Regions from separate parts of the Homo sapiens genome. Here all the other regions are linked to region 1. The links are contacts of gene promoters, found by promoter capture Hi-C in human tissues and cell types (Jung and others, 2019). All regions are on one chromosome and are shown on one strand. The core of a region is centred on a gene start or on the middle of the fragment in contact, and the rest is flanking DNA. Distances in the headings are between cores, read along the strand shown.

Region 1 (2,893 bases), core at 197-2,696:
CTGTAGTTATGATAAATCTGCATAACTCGGAGATGTTTTTGGCACAAAGTGTACGTTAGTTAGATGATGATGATTAAGCTCCCCCCCCACCCCCGCCCCATTCTTGCGGCCGGGGAGTGTGTTTTGCCTGTATTTAAGAAATATCGTTCAGCTGCAGGCGTGTGCGCGCTTAGGCTGTAGTCGGCGTTTCTGAGTCTCCAGGGCAGGGTGACTTGGGTCGGCTGAGTGTCACCCACAGATGTGACTGTTCTTTCCCCCGCGGGCGCGACAGCCTCCTTCCTCTCCAGCCCGAGGCCCGCGGCCCAGACCACGGGAAAGGGAAGGAAGCCCTCGCCGCAAGCCGGCGTCTGGGCCGGCACAAAACGCTCCGCCACCAGAAAAACTTTTTTCCCCCAGCTGCGCGCAACTTTTGGCCTTTTCTCCCAGCACGTTCGCGTCCCAGGTTTCTGTCCGCTGGGTTTTCCTCCGCCTCACTCGCCTTCTCCCCAGCGGCGCGCGGAGGAGCTGGGCTGAGAGGGTCGCGGGGAGCCGGGTCGGCCGCGGCTGGGACGCTGGGGAAGGGGCAGGGGAGGAGGGGGCGTGCGGGGCTGGGGAGGAGGAACTGGTCAAAGGGGACAGAGACGCCCGAGTGCCCGAAAAGGAAAGAGCTGCCGCGGTTTGCTGCAGTCGGAATAAAGTTCGCGCCCTTTCCTCGGCGTTTCGCAGCCTCCTCTCCTTGCTCCGCTCCCCACCCCCGCCCCGCAATTTTTTTTTGTGTGTGTGTGACAGCTGGGCGCTAGCGGCCACCTCTACCTCCACGCCCGCAGCTCCCCGGGGGGGGGGGGGGGCGCCAGGGTTGTTTTTCCATCCCCACAAAGTTGTTTTTTCCATCCCCAGAAAGAGAGAGCAAGAACAACCCAAACAACAAACAAGCCCCCAAAGAAGTCACGGGGCGGTGGGGGGAGGGAGAAACATACATCCTCCTTCCCCAAGCCCCTGGACCTCTGAGGACAAACAACACAACGACCGACTTTTATTTTGCAAAAGGGAAGCAACATTGTAGTCACGACAATTCTGCAGAGAGAGGAAAAACTTGTGGGGCTTGCACGGCCGCCGAGGTCACCTCGCCCGCCGGTCCCCCGCCTCCCGCGAGCAGGGCAGCCCCCTCCCGGGACAAGCCGTTCCCTTTTTTTTTTTTTTTGTCCCGAGGAGGAGCCGGGGAACCGTGCCGGCTGGGACTCGGGGCGCGAGCGCGACCCCGGCGCGAGTGTAAATCAGTCACCTGAGCGCAGAGGGGCCGCGGCGAGGGCGCGCGCGGGCGGGCGGGGAGGCGGAGGCGGCGAGAGCGGAGGCCCGGAGGAACTCGGAGGGGGAGGGAGAGAAAGGCCGAGACGGAGGGAGCCAGCGGCGGCCGAGGGGCTGGTCCAGGCGCGGCCGCTAAGAGGAGACCAAGAGGCGGGGGCTGCACTTGACAACCAGCATGCCGAGATGGTAAGAAGTTTCCACCCTCCTTCCTCTTTTATTCTAGACTTCCTCAGAAATGACCCCCGCGCCCGAGCGCCACCGGGGCCGCCCGGGGGCCGTGTCCGCCCTCCGGCCCGCGGCGTGAGGGGCAAGGGGCGCTGAGGAGGGCGGGCCGGGGACCAGAACCCCGGTCCGACCTGATCCCCGCTGCGCTCCCAGTGGCCTCCCCTAAACTTGGCCCCAAGTTTCTGAGGCGAGCTCTAGGTGGGAGGGTGCACGTGAGAGGGGGCTTCTCAAGGTCGGCCCCGCTCGCGGCTTCCGCGCGAAGGTGAGCGGCTGGCTAGGGGAGGCTCCAGGGCGTTGGGGACGGGCTGGGGGGACGAGGTGGAGGGGAGTGGGGGATGAATGGAGCGCTGGCAGGAGCTCGGGGAAGAGAGGAAGGCGGCTGGGACCTACGGGAACTTTTACAACTTGCCGCCGAGTGAGGGACCGGCGGCTGGGCGTGGGTGCCGGGTGCGCTGGGGCGCAGCCGCCCGGGCCCGGCACGTTGACTCTTCCTCTCCCCTTGTCTTCACATTCGGAATCTTCCCGTGGTAAATGGAGATGGGAGGAAATGCTCCCGCAGGCTTTACGGAGAAGGTGCAGAACGCAGGGCAGGAAAATCAACCTTGCAGAGACGGCTCTTTTCGAAGTGCAATTCTATAGGAGCCGATTTGTTTTACTTGCACGTTGACTGGAGGGTGGGATTTGGGGCCTGGGGAGGGAGCAGAATAAAAAATTATATATGCTGAAAAACCCTAGGTGAAATCTCCTGTGAAGTGAGTTTAAGGTTGAAAAAAAGTTCCAAGTGCAAGTGGTGGAGGAGATGGGCTGGCTTTGCCAAGCGAGACTCCAGCACAGCCCCTCTACGAGAAGCGACTTCTTTGCAGCGAGGAAGCGTGCAATTAGTTCGCCTGGTGATGAGCCGCTCTGTCCGCTTTCGGGGAAGTGATTTGTTAGAAATGGGGCTTGACCACTCCCTTCTTTTTAGTTTGCTTCCTCCCAGCGTCGCTATTGTTACCCCCACTTGGGGATCTGACATGGTGTATTCCGTATATAGAGGGAACATATGAGAATACAGGTGAGATAGCGGGTTGGCATTTTTTCCTCTTCCCTGCTCCCTAATGTGACATCTCTTGTTTCAGTGATCAAAGTCACAACTGGAGTGTAGGAGATGGGACTGTCAAATGCAGGGGCGCGTACACACACACACACACACAAAAGCAAGAGCCCAGGACTGTGGTTACAGTAACGCTGACAGAAATTAAAGTGGTTTTGAAAGCAGCGTGCGATTTATGATGGTTCCCATTTACCCTAGAGTCAAGCTGTTGTAAAACTGACGTACAAAAGACATCATAAAATAATCCTGTGTACCCAGGATTAAAGTGGCAAAAAGTGGCCTGTTTTATTT
Region 2 (2,893 bases), core at 248-2,747, 210 kb after region 1:
CTCACAACAAATCACACACACACAACACATGTAGTCTTTAGAAATAGACATGAAAATAAGATCATTAGATGTTCATGCCTGCTTAATAGGAGTCTCCAAAGCAATAGAAATATTAATATATTGGAACTCTGATGGAGGGAATCCCTGAGTGCAGAGAGGAAACTGATAACACTAAACTTTAATGGCCTCGGAAATTATGAGACAGAGGACTCCAGAGTCTTCTATAATACATACCTTAGCTTTGTTTTCATCTCTGGGGAACTAACATACAGCTATATAGTATACTGATCACTTCCCCATATACTATTGAAGTCAGTCTCCAAGTAAACTTGTGATTTAGTAAGGGCAGGTGGTACATGCTGTTTTATAAATGAGGAAACTGGTTGAGAGAGTTTATGTGGTTTATCCAAGTAAGTTCAAACAGTTAATAAGGACTAGCTATAGTAAGACTTAAAACCTAGGGTTTTTTTGTTAGAAGATGAGTATATTACCCATTACATCTGTTCTTCTGATGATACAGGAATGAGGTAAGGGCTCACACCTTCTTTCTCTCTAGGAATGAAGAAAGGAACCCCTAGGTTGTAAAATCAATTTTACCACATGACGTTGGGAAGGTTAATTGCTTTTCTTGAGCCTCAGTTTCCTTACATTTAAAATGGGAATAATGGTATATACACTTTAGAATATTTAGGATTAAGTTAGATCATCTACAGTCATCCTTCAGTATCTGTAGAGAATTGGTTCCAGGACCTCCCTCAAATACCAAAATTTGAGGACGGTTTAGTTCCTTATAAATGGCATTACTATGCATATAATCTATGTCCATCCTCCCGTACACTTGAAATCATCTCTATATTACTTACAATACATAGTATAATATAAAATGTAAATACTATGTAAATAATTGGTATACTGTATTGATTTTTAAATTACTATTATTTTTATTGTTGTGTTGTTATTTTTTTTTCCTGAGTATTTTCAATCTGCAGTTGGTTGAATTCATGGATGCAGAACCCACAGATACAGAGGGCCTATTGTATAGCAGTCATATTGGCTGGCACATTCTGTGGAAACTTAGTTTTTCCCCCTTTTTGTCCTTTCTCTTTTTCTGCTATCCAATAAAGTTTGGCTTTGTTTGTGAAGGCTAATTATAGTCCGTGCTATTGGATACCTTAGGCAGCTTATGTTCTGCTAAAGAGTAGGAGGTGCACACATAAACAAGGAACTAATACAAAGTGGTATGTATTTTTTTTTTTTTTTTGAGATGGACTTTCGCTCTTATGGCCCAGTCTGGAGTGCAGTGGCACGATCTCAGCTCACTGCAACTTCTGCCTCCCAGGTTCAAGCTATTCTCCTTCCTCAGCCTCCCTAGTAGCTGGGATTACAGGCGTGTGCCACCACGCCTGGTTAATTTTGTATTTTTAGTAGAGACAGAGTTTCTCCATGTTGGACAGGCTGGTCTTGAACTGCCAACCTCAGGTGATCCGCCCGACTCGGCCTCCCGAAGTGCTGGGATTACAGGCTTGAGCCACCGCGCCCGGCCCCAAAGATGTGTAATTTTCAAGGGGAAGTCCAAGACATTGTGGGCAAGGGATGCAAAGTGCTAGTAAATAGTACAATTGGAGAACAACTAATTATGGGGTCCCTAGTGTGAGTAAAACTTATTTGGGGGTGAGATGTTAGATTTGTAAAATATTTTGCAGGGAATAATTTGGCTGAATACAGATATTAACTGAACATATAATTCTGTTTCAGGCATCTATTTGGTTGCTGGAGGTACAGTGTAACAAAGTCCTTTCCCCTTGGAGATTATATTCTAGTGGAGAAGACAAATAGTAAAGAACATATAAGATAGGGAGTATAATAAGGGCTATGAAGAAAAAAGCAGAGAATAAGGGGATGGGAAGTGAGGCTAGAGAGGAGCCTGTTATTTTACATCGTGTGGCCAAGAAAAGCAACGCTGAGGAGATGACAGTTGAGCAGAGAACTGAATAAAATGAGAGAGCAAGCCCTGCACAGATCAAGGGAAGAATATTCTAGCAGAGAGAACAACAATGACAAAGACCCTGATGCAGAAACAAGCTTGGTAATTTTTTTTTTTTTTTTTTTGAGACGGAGTCTCGCTCTGTCACCGGGCTGGAGTGCAGTGGTGCAATCTCGGCTAACTTCAATTTCCGCCTCCTGGGTTCAAGCGATTCTCCTGCCTCAGCCTCCCGAGTAGCTGGGATTACAGGCATGCACCACCACACACAGCTAATTTTTGTGTTTTTAGTAGAGATGGGGTTTCACCATGTTGGCCAGGATGGTCTCAATCTCCTGACCTCCTGATCTGCCCACCTCGGCCCCCCAAAGTGCTGTGATTACGCGTGAGCCACTGTGCCCGCCGCAAGCTTGGGATTTTGAGAAGCAGCGTGGTTGCCAGTGAACAGGGGTCCTGAAATTGCAGAAGGGCACGATGAAACGGAGAGCCCTTTTACATGGCGGTACAATAGAATTTGACTGTAATACTATTGTCAGGGCCCTCTGCATTAAGTCAGTGCACGTGTGTGCATTCACATGCCCCCCCCCGCCATCCATCTGCCATTTACCCACACCTGTCCATCTATCCATCCATTCAGCCATTCAGCAAATATTTATTGAGTACCTCTCTTAAGTTAGCCACTGTTCTAGGACCTAGCTCTCAAATGAATTCATGCTTAAGTTTAATCACATTCAAAAAAAGAGACAGTTGCGATGATCAATGGTTTGTGTATCGGCGTAATGTATTTTTCTGATCCTAGTTGATGATTTTAAGACAATGTAAACTGTCACCTTAAAATCTAATGTGTCCTTCAGCCATTGCTTTTTAGAGGGAAAAGAGTGTAAGAGAAAAAAGTTGGGTGGGGGGTGTGGG
Region 3 (2,893 bases), core at 147-2,646, 180 kb after region 1:
GTTTCTGTCACAGTGGGTCTCAGGTGGGGCATGCAAATGAGTTTCAGACATGCTCTCAGGTGATGATCACAATAATCTTTGGCCAAGAAGCATGCCTTGGGCACTGACCGAGACTATTGGTCTTGTCTGTCAGTGTGCTGCCCACCCCCAGAGGGTTGGGTTCTTCAGATTTTATTCATGCACGTTCTCTGGAAACTCTTTACTTTTTAATAATTTATAGGCCAGGCTGCTAGCATAAGAGAACTCAGAAAATTACCTTATATTTTAATTGTGAAACGGTTGGTTGCAGGAGGGGCAGATATGCTGCTTCTTGCCACTCTCACCCCCTCATCCCCCAGTGAAGTCTTTTTTTTTTTTTTTTTTTTTTGAGACTGTCTTACTGTGTTGCCCAGGCTGGAGTGCAGTGGTGAGATCTCGGCTCACTGCAACCTCTGCCTCCCAGGTTCAAGCGATTCTCCTGCCTCAGCCTCCCAAGTAGCTGGGATTACAGGTGCCCGCCACCATGCCCAGCTAATTTTTGTATTTTTAGTAGAGACGGAGTTTCTCCATGTCGGCCAGGCTAGTGTCGAATTCCTGACCTCAGGTAATCCACCCACCTTGGCCCCCCAAAGTGCTGGAATTACAGGCATGAGCCACGACGCCCAGCACCCAGTGAAGTCTTTAACACTAAGTCCCTCTGAGCTGACAGCGATCTTTTCGGTCATTCCAAACACAGCATCACTCTAGGAAGCCTTCTAAAAGATGATTGAGTTGGCCCTTGGTCCCTAAGTGAGACCAAGTGACTCTGTCTCTTTTTAGTTTCCCCAGTTGCTTATAATATTCCTTTGACCCTTGTGGCTTGCTTTCCTTTCCCCTATGCGGCTTCCATCGTGGTCTCAAAGTTCTCAGCCTTCATTGGATTGGTATGCTGTGGTGCTGCTTTTGTGGGCTGGGGGCAGAGTACCATTTACAGATATACTGTGTACCTACTGAATCCTTAGGTGCTTTACATGTGTCATCTCATTCAACCTTGCCAACCCTGCACAATAAATATAAGTATCCTCATTTTACAGGTGCAGGAAACAAGGCTCGGAGATACGTAACTGAGCAACTTTACAAGATATTGCGGTAGAGATTTAAACAGAGATCTAATTGCAAAGCTAGAACTCTTTCAGTATTACCTGTCTTTAAGATAGCTGGAGTTGAGTGTTGAGGATAGAAAGTAAGTTAACCTGGGTGTGGCATACTTGAAATTGCATTTAATGTCAGTTGTCAGAGTTGACAATGTATTTGCCCATAAGCAACAACCTGTGGTGTTCAATTTCCAAAATAATGTATTACAAGAATGATTGCAAACCAATAGAATAATAGAATTCTGTACCTTTTTTTCTTAAATATAAGAACCCGCCGGGTGCAGTGGCTCACGCCTGTAATCCCAGCACTTTGGGAGGCCAAGGTGGGCAGATCACTTTAGGTCAGGAGTTCAAGACCAGCCTGGCCAGCATGGAGAAACCCCATCTCTACTAAAAGTACAAAAATTAGCCAGGCATGGTGGCAGGCACCTGTAATCCCAGCTACTCGGGAGAATGAGGCAGGAGAATCACTTGAACCCGGGAGGCAGAGGTTGCAGTGAGCTGAGATTGCGCCACTGCACTCCAGCCTGGGTGACAGAGTGAGACTCCATCTTTAAAAAAAAAAAAAAAAAATGGCTGGGCACAGTGGCTCATGCCTGTAATCCCAGCACTGTGGGAGGCCGAGGCGGGCATATCATGAGGTCAGGAGATCGAGACCATCCTGGCTAACGTGGTGAAACCCCATCTCTATTAAAAATACAAAAAATTAGCTGGGCGTGGTGGTGGGTGCTTGTAGTCCCAGCTACTCGGGAGGCTGAGGCAGAAGAATCGCTTGAACCCAGGAGGCACAGCTTTCAGTGAGCCAAGATCGCACCACTGCGTTCCAGCCTGGGTGACAGAATGAGACTCTGTTTCAAAAAAAAAAAAAAAAAAAAAAAGAACCCATACCCATCCGTGGATCTGGTACAAGTGACTTCATTCTCATTTTCTCCAATGCTAAAACCCAGGTAAAGCAAGAATTGCAGGAAGTACGTGAAATCTGTCCAATAGTAGGATGTTTTTCGAGTAAAGCACTAGCGAAGTCATTGAGAGAACTTTGTCTTAATTTCACTTCTATCCATTTTTATCAAATGTAGAGGGAGACCATAGTGATAGGTCTCAGTTTTCTCATTTAGAAGTAAAAGGAGTACAATGGAAATTTCTCCCCTTCCTTACTTGTCTGATGTGGGAATTAATAAATATTACGTGTAAAGCCCTTTGAGCACTCTGGAAGAAAGATTCTATGTAATTTTAGCATTATTCGTGGTCCATTAGGCTCCTCAGGGTGTCACCAGGGAAGAGAGATTTTTACCTTTTATCCCATATTTCACAGTATAAAAACAAGGTATTTCTGTTGTTGTTTGTGGCTGTGAAAAATCTCCTGTAATTGTACCTGCAGAGGTTGCTCCTATCACAGAGCCCAGGGCACTGTTCTTTGGCAGCTCACCCCAGAGGATCAGCTCCTGAGGGAAGAGCAAGAGTGAACCTTAGTGAAATAGCTCCTGGTGGCTGTGAGGACATTGTGCCTGCTCCACCCCGCACCCTGGCATCCCCCCACCTCCGTCACCTTCTGTGTCTTTCAACCTGTTGCATAACAGAATCACATACTGATTGACTCTTTTCCATTTTCTTTTATCTTATGCTGATCCTATAGTTCATTGCTCTGAGATGACTCCAGAGGAGATCTGTGTCTCCTTCAGGCACTGGCATCTGTCCTATCCAGTTCTTCTCCTATAAAATATCTCCCATCCTTATCATGTTCCTATTGATACAACTCTGCCTTATCTGACTCTATAACAATG
Region 4 (2,893 bases), core at 197-2,696, 140 kb after region 1:
TTAGCAGGTGCAGTACTGTATATTTATGAAAAAATATTTTTTAAAACTTAGAAAGATATCCTGCTGCTTTTAAGGCTCGTGTTGTGGCAGTAACATGTTATATTGCAGACGTGTTTCAGCCAGGGCCACCTCAGTCCATGATATCTGAAGGAGCTCAGTTTGCCTATACTGGGTAGCATTTTGTCAGAAGACTGCTGGCTGGGCAGACTAGATTTGGATGTATTAGCTAGTCAGCCTAATAACCCTGTACAGACTGTATTGATTTTCTAGGAGAGAGTTTATGAACTAAATAAACTTGGGGTTGGTGTCTTAATAAACTGCTTCTCTCAGTCTGTCACATTTAGTTACGGAGCTGTGCAGTTTAGGGGGAAAAAAGGCTAATTCTGTTACAGATTGTTCACAGCAGGGTCTCCAAATTAGCCCTTTGTTTTGTAATGCCACCTTGCTTGGGCTTGCTTTGAGCACATTTCTCAGTTTTGCCCTAATGAGTTGCAACACTGATAATGTGGCTGATGATCTTTCATTGATTTCACTATCACTTGCTTGTCTGGTAATTGATCCGTTGCTGAGCCTCTAGTTAATTATATCGGCTTTGACATGGCCCGGTCCACGGGGAATTTCAAGTCTTGCAGAATAACAGTTTTAATAAAAGAGTCTATTACTGCAGGTGCTTGCTGCTGCATGCCAGTTGATTTTTGTGTTGTTAGTGTGTGTGTGGGGTGTTGGGTAGGATACCTGGGAAAGAAGAGGACTGCAGGACTGAGAAAAAACGGGGTGGGGGCTAGAAAAAGAGGAAGAGGGAGTGAAGGAGGGGGAGAAAGAGACAAGGAGAGGGCGAGTGAGAGGCGAGAGAGAACACAGGCAAAAACACACAGGCAAAGCGATACAACAGAGCCTGAGTGGAAGGAGGAGGAAGCTTGCTATTGACAGTGTCCTTAAGCCTCCCACAAATAACAGCCATTAGTGGGAAGGTCAGGAGCTGAGCAGGCAGCTTGACTGAGGCACTGAGTGCCACTTCAGAAATCAAGAGGCTAGCAAATTTTAGAGGGAGTTTAAGTGGGTAATAGCTAGCACTAAAGGTACAGTCACTGTTGACAATTGACTCGTAGGGGATTTTCCTGCCCTCCCCCCCAGCAAGAATATTTTTATTGACCACAGGTGGACTTAATATATTTTAAGGCAACAATTCTTTGGGTTCTTGTTTGTTTCCTCTCAGATATTGAATTTGCTTCTTTTGAGACTTTTTTGTGCTTAATGGTGGGGAACTGGAGGGAAGTTTAACAGAAAAGCTTTCAGGAGATGTCGGTTCTAGAGGGGAAGGCACATTTGTGTCAACATAGTGTACGTTTTCTCATCTTTTCTCATTGTCCACTAATGACACAGAGCTGCCATTGAAGCTCTTTTCTGTTTCTTTTGTTGTTTCAGAGAGTAAGGTTTATTGTTATTCTTGAGTTAAGAAGGAACAAGGAGAGTGGTACATTTGTCCTCGATATTTGTAGGTGGTTGAAGATTAATGTTCCTTACATGTTAAGTTTAGGAAGGATGGCTTTTTCCTGCTGACTACTTTTATGAGATGGCATGAATTTAGCTTTCCATTTTGAACTTACTGTTTATGTACAGTGCATTTTGTTCAGTGCTGCTTTTCCATAAATAAGGCAGACAAATACTATCTAATAAATAGGTGAATAGTTTTAAGACTTGTTTAATTAAAAATACGACATGTTATCAAGGGTGTATTTCATCAGGCAGGAAAACGTTATAGAATTTTCCACAGAGATCTTGAATAAAAAATGGAGTTTTTATATTCATTACTTTTTGCCTGAAATGGGACAGGCTTTTTTTGTTTATCTTTTTCTTTTCTTAACGATTTGAAAGGATATTGCAGATGCTTCATCTAGGAACTTTAACAAAGGATTTTTTTCTACTTCTGAGCTTTAAGAAAAGGTATACTTTTTTCCTTTGCCATTCAGTTTCTCATTAGCTAACATCCAGTTTAGTAATTAATAGCCTGAGGTACTAGATATTAAATAGTATATATTTATATTTGGCAAATGTTTATTGTGCATCTTCTATGTTATAAAAACTGCTAGGCTTATTTGCTTACTCTTTAGAGTATAAGGTCACATCTCTATGTACGTTATTTAGGAGTTTCTATGTGGTTATAAATAGCCCAGCACATACGAGATGACTTTCAGGAGCTAACATTTAGACCATAACTGAGCCAACTTTACATTCTCTTACAGCTGAATATTTTACTTTCTTCAGTGTAATTAAAAAAAAATTTAAGTATCACAGTTTTACAAATGTTAAAGCCAAAGACTGGTGTCAGATATTATGTGTTATATCAGAAAGCATTGTTGAGAAAAATTCCCGGGGAAGGGCCCTAGCTTCCCCTTGCCCTGTGCACCGTGATTGTGGTGCTGCCTGGAGTGTGCATAAGTGTGTATCTATCTGTATATCTGGAGAGGGGTTAGTGCAGGGTGTCATTTGGTGCCTGACAGTGGAACAGTGCAGTTGACTCTTAGCTCTGCTATCCAATGACATGCAGTGGCTGAGAGTTTGAAGCTGATGGTTGGGTCTCCAGTGCCGCCTGCACACCTGACAGGCAGCTGTTAAACTGAGCAAAGGCAAGCTTGGGGAGTCACAATCTATGCATAAATGATAGGGATATCTGTGCAGAAGGTGCGAAAGAAGCTCTGACCCCCTCCCTCCCCCAAATCTCCCCCTTCCCAAATGAAATGCACAGTTCAGCCAGCTTCTTAACTACACTACACTCCTGCTACTGGCTGCCAAGAGGCTCAAAAAATCCACCTTCACTTTTCAGTCAGAAGAGGCAGAAGTGGATGTGAGAGAAAGAGAGACACAGAGAGACAGAGAGCCAAAGAGGGCAAGA

What was found. The method cuts DNA at HindIII sites, captures the fragments that hold promoters and counts their contacts. A contact is called where the count stands out against the background at its distance.
Region 2: a fragment that was not itself captured here is called in contact with the fragment with the promoter of BNC2 in region 1 in 1 of the 25 tissues and cell types used here (IMR-90 fibroblasts).
Region 3: a contact is called between a fragment that was not itself captured here and the fragment with the promoter of BNC2 in region 1, in 1 of the 25 tissues and cell types used here (dorsolateral prefrontal cortex).
Region 4: a contact is called between a fragment that was not itself captured here and the fragment with the promoter of BNC2 in region 1, in 1 of the 25 tissues and cell types used here (mesenchymal stem cells).

Annotation. Positions count from the first base shown.
Region 1 is chr9:16,869,223-16,872,115 of GRCh38, reverse strand. BNC2 (basonuclin zinc finger protein 2) reads left to right here and starts at 1,446. Exons shown (of 7, transcript NM_017637.6): 1 at 1,446-1,470. The coding sequence starts at 1,468. The HindIII fragment of the contact is 8,994 bases long and covers 1-2,893 here.
Region 2 is chr9:16,658,823-16,661,715 of GRCh38, reverse strand. All of the region lies in intron 3 of BNC2 (basonuclin zinc finger protein 2), which reads left to right. Among named protein-coding and RNA genes, the nearest start is that of BNC2-AS1, 67 kb to the left of the region's middle. The HindIII fragment of the contact is 4,475 bases long and covers 1-2,893 here.
Region 3 is chr9:16,690,602-16,693,494 of GRCh38, reverse strand. The region is part of intron 3 of BNC2 (basonuclin zinc finger protein 2); the gene reads left to right. Among named protein-coding and RNA genes, the nearest start is that of BNC2-AS1, 35 kb to the left of the region's middle. The HindIII fragment of the contact is 4,232 bases long and covers 1-2,893 here.
Region 4 is chr9:16,727,929-16,730,821 of GRCh38, reverse strand. It overlaps BNC2 (basonuclin zinc finger protein 2), which reads left to right. Exons shown (of 7, transcript NM_017637.6): 3 at 2,825-2,893. Among named protein-coding and RNA genes, the nearest start is that of BNC2-AS1, 2.6 kb to the right of the region's middle. RefSeq lists an enhancer at 126-673. The HindIII fragment of the contact is 4,009 bases long and covers 1-2,893 here.